Linked DNA regions of Homo sapiens: regions 1 and 2 are each linked to region 3. The links are contacts of gene promoters, found by promoter capture Hi-C in blood cells and fetal thymus (Javierre and others, 2016). All regions are on one chromosome and are shown on one strand. Each heading gives the region's core, a stretch centred on a gene start or on the middle of the fragment in contact. The rest is flanking DNA. Distances are from core to core; before and after follow the strand shown. Region 1 has its middle 27 kb from the start of EPS8L3. Region 2 has its middle 14 kb from the start of GSTM5. Region 3 holds the start of GNAI3 (G protein subunit alpha i3).

What was found. Contacts are between HindIII fragments. The CHiCAGO score rates a contact against its expected background, and 5 or more counts as called.
Region 1: a fragment that was not itself captured here is called in contact with the fragment with the promoter of GNAI3 in region 3 in 14 of 17 cell types (naive CD8 T cells, non-activated CD4 T cells, erythroblasts and 11 more); the score reaches 11.3 in naive CD8 T cells.
Region 2: a contact is called between a fragment that was not itself captured here and the fragment with the promoter of GNAI3 in region 3, in 1 of 17 cell types (M1 macrophages). The highest score is 5.3, in M1 macrophages.

What each region holds. Positions count from the first base shown.
Region 1 is chr1:109,789,981-109,792,680 of GRCh38, reverse strand. No RefSeq gene overlaps it. Among named protein-coding and RNA genes, the nearest start is that of EPS8L3, 27 kb to the right of the region's middle. RefSeq lists an enhancer at 1,462-1,521. The HindIII fragment of the contact is 1,887 bases long and covers 406-2,292 here.
Region 2 is chr1:109,724,500-109,727,199 of GRCh38, reverse strand. No RefSeq gene overlaps it. Among named protein-coding and RNA genes, the nearest start is that of GSTM5, 14 kb to the right of the region's middle. The HindIII fragment of the contact is 769 bases long and covers 980-1,748 here.
Region 3 is chr1:109,547,299-109,549,998 of GRCh38, reverse strand. It overlaps GNAI3 (G protein subunit alpha i3), which reads right to left and starts at 1,384. Exons shown (of 9, transcript NM_006496.4): 1 at 1,161-1,384. The coding sequence starts at 1,278. RefSeq lists enhancers at 1,098-1,267, 1,798-1,857. The HindIII fragment of the contact is 6,158 bases long and covers 1-2,700 here.

The DNA of each region.
Region 1 (2,700 bases), core at 100-2,599, 240 kb before region 3:
CTGACTCCCTTGGCAGGCCCGGGGGTCCTCGAAGGCTGGCTGCCTCCCCTCGCCAGTTATCAATTCCAGCCTCGGGGCGCCTCCCAATTCCGTCTGAAAGTTTCTGGAGGGGGCCAGGTCTTGCCACTCTGAGAGTCTTAAAACCCCAGCCCAGAGAACGGCTTCTAAAGGAGGCCTGGGAGAGTGGGAGTGGGGGATGAGGTGTAGGAGGGTGGAGATGAAGCTGAGGTGGAGGGGTCATTAATTCAGCAGCTCTGCCACTTGGTACCAGCCCCCAGGGCAGCGGCTCCAGTTGTCCTGTGGGGCCAGGACGCTGTTTCTGCTGAGTCATCCTTTCTTGCCCAGAGGGATCCTGGCCCCAAGCCACATTCCTAGTGGGGTCTGAGTGCTGCAGAGTAGGAAGCTTCCTTTCTCACCAGCCCCCAGCGCTCCAGCCATGCAAACAGGCTGGTCTCTCAGCAGCCTCTGCCGGCAGCGAACATGCTTCTCCGTTTGTCTGCATTCCCCCAGCCCCCCAGCCCACCTGGATCCCAAGTTCTGGGAGCTAAAAACACTCCCCAGGGAGGTACAGGAGGCGAGGCTGGCCCTAACAGGAGGGGGCCAAAGGGAGATTAAGGAACGATTTTAAATTTCTGCCTTCCTACAAGGGGCCCTCCCGCTGTAGGGGTCCAATAGCCCCACTGAAAAGGGCTGAATCTCAGCCCAAAGGCAGAGGCAGCAACCCCAACCTCTCTGTGTTGTGTGAAATGTCAGCGTCCCCAGACAAGCAAGGTAGCCACACCTGCGGAGCTCATGTATCAGGAACAGGCTAAGAACACCTACTATGTGCTAAGCACTGCTCTGGGCGCTGGCCTTGCAGCAGTGAGCAGGGCAGATGCGGCCCAGTCCCTGGCGTTTCTCCCAACCTTTCCAGTCCCACCACCGCTGCCTCCACTGGTGGTCTCCTCCCAGACTGCCCAGGTCCAAATCTTGGCTCCCCACTTCTAGCGATGGGATCTTGAGCAAGTTACTTTACCCCTCTGTGCCTCCATTGCCTCATCTGTAAAATGGGGTGAAGTAATGCCTACCTCATGGGAACGATGAGAGAGGTAAATGAGTTATTATGTGTAAAATGCTTAGAACAGTTTCTGGCACAGAGCTCAATTCTTTCCTGTGTGTTCTGAACTCTGTGCCTGGGCTCAGCCCTCTCTCCTCCTGGAATGCCCTGCCCCTCTTCTGGAACCCATAAGTCCAGCCTCTTCGCTGAGTTTCCAGGTGAGAAGACCAATTAGGGGCAGGCCCACAGTCAGCCCACAGCCTTACTAGGGCCACCAATACTGGCCGAGTGTTTTCCTGTTGCCAAGGGTTTTAAACAGCCCTGTGAGGTAGATAGGGGAGGGAATTCGGTGAGGGAAAGACACCCGCCTGAGGTTGCAGAACCAGCGAGTGTTGGATCTGAGAGTGGAACTTGGATCTTCTGACTGGAAGTAGCACTGCCTCTGTCCCACCTGGTGGCGTTGGTCCTAAGAAACCTTCAGATATCCTGAGGCTATCACCAGGGCCTCTGAAGCTAACCCAAGGCTCGGCACCCAGAAAATGGGGCCTTCCTAGCCCTTCAGAGGCCCTGGAGTCAGTTGAGCTTGTCTCAGAGCCAGCTGGGGTCCACGAAGGCCTCAAGACAGGGGGCGCTGGCTAGCAGAGCCCTGAGGAGGGCCCTGCAGGAAGAGCTCAGCGGAAACTCTGAGCAATGCTGGCAGCCACAGGCCTCTGGGCTTCCTGCACCCTCCACACAGGCTGCCCTGTCAACATCAATGTCAATGCGTTTGTGAAACCCTGCCGGGCAGGCAGTGGGAACTCAAGGGGCCCCAAGGGTTCATAGGCTGTGGTCACCCTGTTCCTTTGCAGCCCAGGAGAAGGTGGCTTTCTAAAGACTGCTGTCCACAGTGTAATGGGATGCAGCTGCTGCCGAAGACAGTTACCTGAAGGAGGCCCCACGGTCTCCTTAGGCCTTGGGCCTCCAGATCCCATGGCTTCTCCCTGCAGGTCCATATCTTCTGGGGTCCCCACAGATTCAGAGAACCCCCAGACAGAGCAATAGAGTGGACCTTGTGGTCGAAGGACTTTGGAGTGAAAGACATGTGGGTTATAAGCCCAATCCACAGCTTTGCTATCTGTGTGACTTTGGGAAAGTTAGTTAACCTCTCTGTAGAGAGCCTCAGTTTTCTCATCTGTAAAATGGTGACAGAAAGTACCTACCTTGTCCTGAAGATTAAATAAAACAATGTAAATGGGAGACCTGGCATACCATAAGCTTTTGATAAATAGGAACTGATGTTTTTGTGACCACTGAGTGATAGCAGATATTGGAGGTACAAATACTATTGCATTTCTTCGATTTGTATAATTTCAATTAAAACCATCCAGACCTAATTTACTATACTTGAAAGAAAAACATACCTTCCTCTGGAATCTTCCTCTCCTTTCAAATTGCCCAAGAACCTCCAGGTCTCATGTACTCAAAAAGTGGAGGGGGAGGTAGAGGCTCCAACTTCTGCACCTTGGCCAGGAGAACCAGGACGCTGACCCGTTCCCACTGAGGTGGCACCTGTGGATAACTGCTCCCACGTGGTCAGAAGGCTGAGTGTCCTGTGCCAACCAGAGCACCACACAGGCCACATGCATCTTCTGGGGGCTGACTTCAAGGATGGCAGAGGATGGCTG
Region 2 (2,700 bases), core at 115-2,614, 180 kb before region 3:
AGATCAATCCCCTGTCCTCCTGTTCTGACACTGCACTGCCTCTTGCAGCCACGCGATAAATTGTGCATAAGGCTCCCGTGATCCCTGCATAACATGTGGAAAAGTCTGCACTGGAACTCTCTCTTCAGGAATTGTGCTCCAGACACATTTGGTGGCTAAGGCAGACTGGTGGTAAGTGGCCTCTGGGAGTGTTAATTGTTATACCAGATCTGAAAAGGGGCCACTACATGTTAGCATTTCCTCTGTAATGTGTCCTTGACCAGCGGTGCAATTCTGCCTAGCCTGGTCTGCTCACATTTCTTGCCAATTTAAACTCCATGTCAGATACGCACTGGCGGATAAGCGAGTGTGAGCCAAATGTTTTATATCAAAGGGTGGAAGGCACATGGCTCCAAACACTGATTCTAACAGCCCTATAGTAAATGGGCTTTGCCCTCTATTATTAACCACGCTAGCTTTTAATTCTTTTATAATTTAAACTCTACAAGAGTGTGTTCATGTAAAAGATGTTGTAGGTCATTCAGATCAGGCCTTACAGTAATAGGAAAAGCGCAAGGTCCTAAAGGTTCACCAGCCATAGCAGCAGCACGCAACATTTTTTATATGGGGGTTTCTGCTTCTGTTATTGGAGGGGGTGGCGGAGGCCAGTTCTCCTCTCCTTTTTCCTGCGTAGCAAGTGGCCAAATCTCCTCCCCTTTCTCCTGCTCATTATTTTCAATAGGCGCTGTCAGAGGAATAAATAATCTTTTTAATTCTTGAGACTCAGAACCTGACTCCTGTTGTCCGACAGAATTAGAAGGAGACAGCAGCAGTAGGATTGTGCAAACCAAACCCCAGGCAGAAAAAACAGAAGGGTCTACTTTAAGACCTTTTTGATGAGCCCGTTTCAATCCTTCTCCTATTCTGTCCCAATTTTCCACATCAAGATTGCCTGCCTGCAGAAACCATGGGTTATGCATAATAACCTCCTGCAGAAGCTTAGTTAATGTTTGCTAATTAACTTGAGCCCCAGGCTATTTCAACAGAACTTTAAGCAACTGCACATAATGTTTTTCTTCAAGAGACAAATTCTGCCCCATGTTACCCTGATTCAGAAAATTCCCATTCCCAGTACTTCTTTAGAGCACTGACCTTATATCCACTGCCAGCAGATTCATCCCAGGGTCCCTGTTCATCTGGTCAATTTCACTTCCTCTGCTCCAGCAGACCTTCTTTGTTCATGTCCTCAAGACCCTGTTTTCGGGCAGCACTTTGCTGTGGACCTTGCTGGACTGAACAAAGGAGGACCAAGGCGGGAATAAAGACAAAGACTGAAGAGTATGTTTTGAAGAAGGGGGTCAGGGGACTCCTTGCTTCTAGTGAACAAGGGCCCTGAGCTTTTAGAGTCCTTCATATTTATTGAGTAAAGGAGATAGGGAGAAGGGGATGGTTGTGGTCAGCTGCTTGACTTAGTGCAGGTCTGCATGACTGCATTATTTGAACAGTAGGCTCCAGATGTCCCAGTAGATAACCTCAAGGAGCACGGCACCAGGGAGTGATTACTCTCAGCATACCTTCTGGCGGCAGGCACAGATGCAAGTTTGCTCACATTCTGTATTCATGATAAACAGTTTGCTGTTTGATCATATAGCCTTCAGTGGAATGCTGAGTGGGTCACAACCCTCAGGCTTTCGGTTCCCAACACAATAATAATCTGTTTTCATTTGTAACAGGACACAGTTGGAGAAACTGGTTATTTTACCAAAGCTTTAACTTGAATGGTATGCTTTCCTTTAAGGAATCAAACTTGATTTATGGAGCCAATAAAGCCACTTGGGAAACTGGACTCATAGTTTTGTCCACCTGTGGTAGGTAAAGAATGTCACTTTCTGACAGGCCCAGGAGCCCCAAGTTTACTTTGGAACCTCAAGGGGAGAGGATCACCCAACTCATAGGTATTTAATGGCACAAATCCATGGCTGAGCTCAGCTTTAAAACAGTCTTATCTGAGATTCCTCCTGTGAACCCAGAAAATGTGAGACAAGTTCCAGAAAATCCGAGACAGGTCTGTCTTTCTTTCTTTCTTTCTTCCTTTCTTTCCCCTTCCCTTCCCTTCCCTTCCCTTCCCCTCCCTTCCCTTCCCTTCCCTTCCCTTCCTTTCTTTCATTTTTAGAGGGAGTTTTGCTCTGTCGCCCAGACTGGAGTGCAATGGCACAATCTCCGCTCACTGTAATCTCCACCTCCCAGGTTCAAGCGATTCTCCTGCCTCGGCCTACCAAGCAAGTAGCTGGGATTACAGGCATCTGCCACCATGCCCAGCTAAGTTTTGTATTTTTAGTAGAGACGAGGTTTCGCCATGTTGGCCAGGCTAGTCTTGGACTCCTCATCTCGGGTGATCCGCCTGCCTCAGCCTTTCAAAGTGCTGGGATTACAGGCGTGAGCCACCGTGCCCAGCCAGGTCTCAGTTAATTTAGAAAGTTTGTTTTGCCAAGGTTGAGGATGAATACCGGTGGCACAGCCTCAGGATGTCCTGACAACATGTGCCGCAGGTGTTCAGGGCACAGCTTGATTTTATACATTTTAGACAGACATGAAACATCAATTAATATGTATAAAGAACTACATTGGTTTGGTCTGGAAAGGTGGGACAACTTGAAGCACCCACCTGCTTCGAGTTGTCCAGCCTTTCTGGATGGAACCAATGTGCTTTTTACATATATT
Region 3 (2,700 bases), core at 135-2,634:
AATATTGGAAAATAATGGAAATACTACCCTAGAAAATCTTCACTAATAATGAAGAAATGTGGCTTGATTTATTAGTAAGCTAATGCCAGTATTCTTTGTATGATTTACTGAGCCTCTCAAAAATTTTGAAACTCATGTTGAGTAAAATACATCCGACTGTGTTTAAAAAAAGCCAATTAAAACGACTATCAAATAACATAAACAGTAATTCCTGAAGTCAATGGTTTTGCTTTGAAGAGGCCAAAAAGGATAAAACAGCCACCAGAAGTCTACCATAGTCTTTACAGTGAATATGTCCAACTCTGTAACTTATCCTAAGGTAACTATTCCAACTACACATCATCTATAGCAACTATTCAGCATCCTCCAATGTGTAATCTCTTGTTCACTAGATCTTCTGCTACAAACCTCAAAGAAATCATTCTTTAAATTTCTTCAGCTCACACCATTTCCCATCCTTTTGTAAAAACAGAAGAAGACGTTATAAAACTTTGAAAATAAAAATGATAGGAAACGGTGGAAAAGTAGAGATGGCCTCTGCACCCAAGCTCTTTTCCTTTATACCTGATAACTTGTCATTTATCTCACCTACCTATCTTCATGTTCCTGGATAATCCAGGGTTCTTCCAACAGTTCAAATGGCTCTCTTACTAACAAATGTCAACGTCCTTATGTGACCATTCTGTTCCAGTCTCTGTACCATCCATTCAAGCCTGCTAGCTTTATCCTGCCAAAGAACCACGACGCTCCAAACTCACAAACCATTATACAAGCCCAACATATACTCTATGCCGTTCTCGTTACCAACACGCTCCAACCCAACGTAAAACCTTCCTAGTATCAACTCTTCCTTTATGAGCTTTTCCCATATTCCTACTCCCTCAACATCTACCGGCCCATACTCCCAAGTCTCTCTGCTAAACGCAATTCTAGCCCGGAGTCACACCCTCTACAGCCTAATTCCCGCAACCCCAAAACCCCACCCCCCTCATCACGCCCTCTGGGGCCTCAGCTAGGAACCCCAACACCCCGCCCCACGCCCGGCACGCCCTCCAGATCCCTTTAGGGTCCTTTCCGTCGGCCCGACCAGACCCCGTTCAGGCCTTCCAAGCGCCTAGGCTCTCCCGACCACCACTCAGTCCCCGCCTCCAGCCCCTCACCGAGTAGCAGCAGCTTCACTTCTTTGGCCGCTTTTTCCCCGTCCTCCCGTAAGTTGCGGTCGATCATCTTGCTTCGCTCCACTGCCGCCTTGTCTTCGGCGCTCAACGTGCAGCCCATGGCGGCGGCGGGAGAGGGGACACGGGCCCGGACTCACTCACACCACGGAAACTGCGGCTCGGCAGGCTGAGGCACCGTCTATTGCTGGGCGGTGGCCCTCTCCGTCAGCTCCCTTAGCGCCCAGAAGAACCGGATATCCGACGTTTACGACACTTCCGGCGACGCCCCGCAGCCTTCACCGTTTAAACCACTCTCCTCAGGGAGAGGAGTTGAGACCGAAAGCGGAAGTCACGGGGAGCTGGCGGCTGGGTTGGGCGGCGGATCTGCAGAGTTTCGAGGTTCTGTCAAGTTCGCTGCCCGCCGCCCAACTTGAAGCCTCATTTACCTTTCGGCTACCTGATTTGGATAAATGGAGAAAAACCGGGGCCTCTAACTCATAATGCCCTCCCGCGTTCAAGATGCCAGTTTTGGGGCGGAGATTTCTAAATTAAAGCCTACATCCCGCGCGGGAATATCTGCTGGTAATTTCTCGCCTGCCAGAAAACTCCTTTGATCTCTGGCTGTGGAGACTCGGGACCCCTACCCAAGTATGGGACACTGCCTCCGTTGGGGTTATCTCAGATCAATGGAATGGGAACAAGCTATCCGGCCTGGGCGCCGTTCACGTCTCACATCTGAGATCGTAACACCGACTGTGCTTAGGACCTCAGCAATAACTTTTTGCCGTCTCTGGCCCACTGACTCCTCTCAAAATGTCCCCTGGTCCTTTTGCTATTCACGTATTTCTGTGGGCTTGAGATTTGCTTAACTCCTATATTGGCAAAAGGCCACTTGAAATCGCTAGCAGATACTCGATAACCTGAAAGGTAAGCCTGTAGTTCCTCCATAAAATTTCCATGCTGCCCTTCTCTCCAGTATAATTCAGATCTTCCTACCTTAGGGTCTTAGAACTAAAACCAAGATAAGTCAACTTCAATTCCACACCCCGAAACAAACCAGTGCATCCTGTGAATCTCCTACTAAAATTTCCTGTTGCGATAACATGCAAAAGGAGAGGTTCTAGTAAAATTTGCCTCTCAGCCCTAGTATCACCTGAAACTTAAGTCCACTGTGAAAGTCCCAGGCAGATAGCATCTTTCACTAATAACCCTGGATACTGCGTGAAGGTAGTCCTAAATCAACTTTTCAGGCAAATAAGCCCACAATTACTATACGTTCTAGCGAAGGGAACTCAGTCCCTAAAACCTTTCCCTGTGATTGTAAATTTATTTCTCTAATAGAATCTGAACTTGAGAAAGTAAGGTCCCAACAGAGAGGTTTATATAGTGATGATTCATTAATTAGAAGGATTTAATTAGAGGATTAGAGCCACCTTAAAAAGCCTCGTCCACCTTAACTCTTAGCAATGCCAATTCTTCAAGGTTTGAAAAGTCCCCCAGTCATTCCCAAATGACTGTTAAGAATGAAAGGGACTGCTTTTCC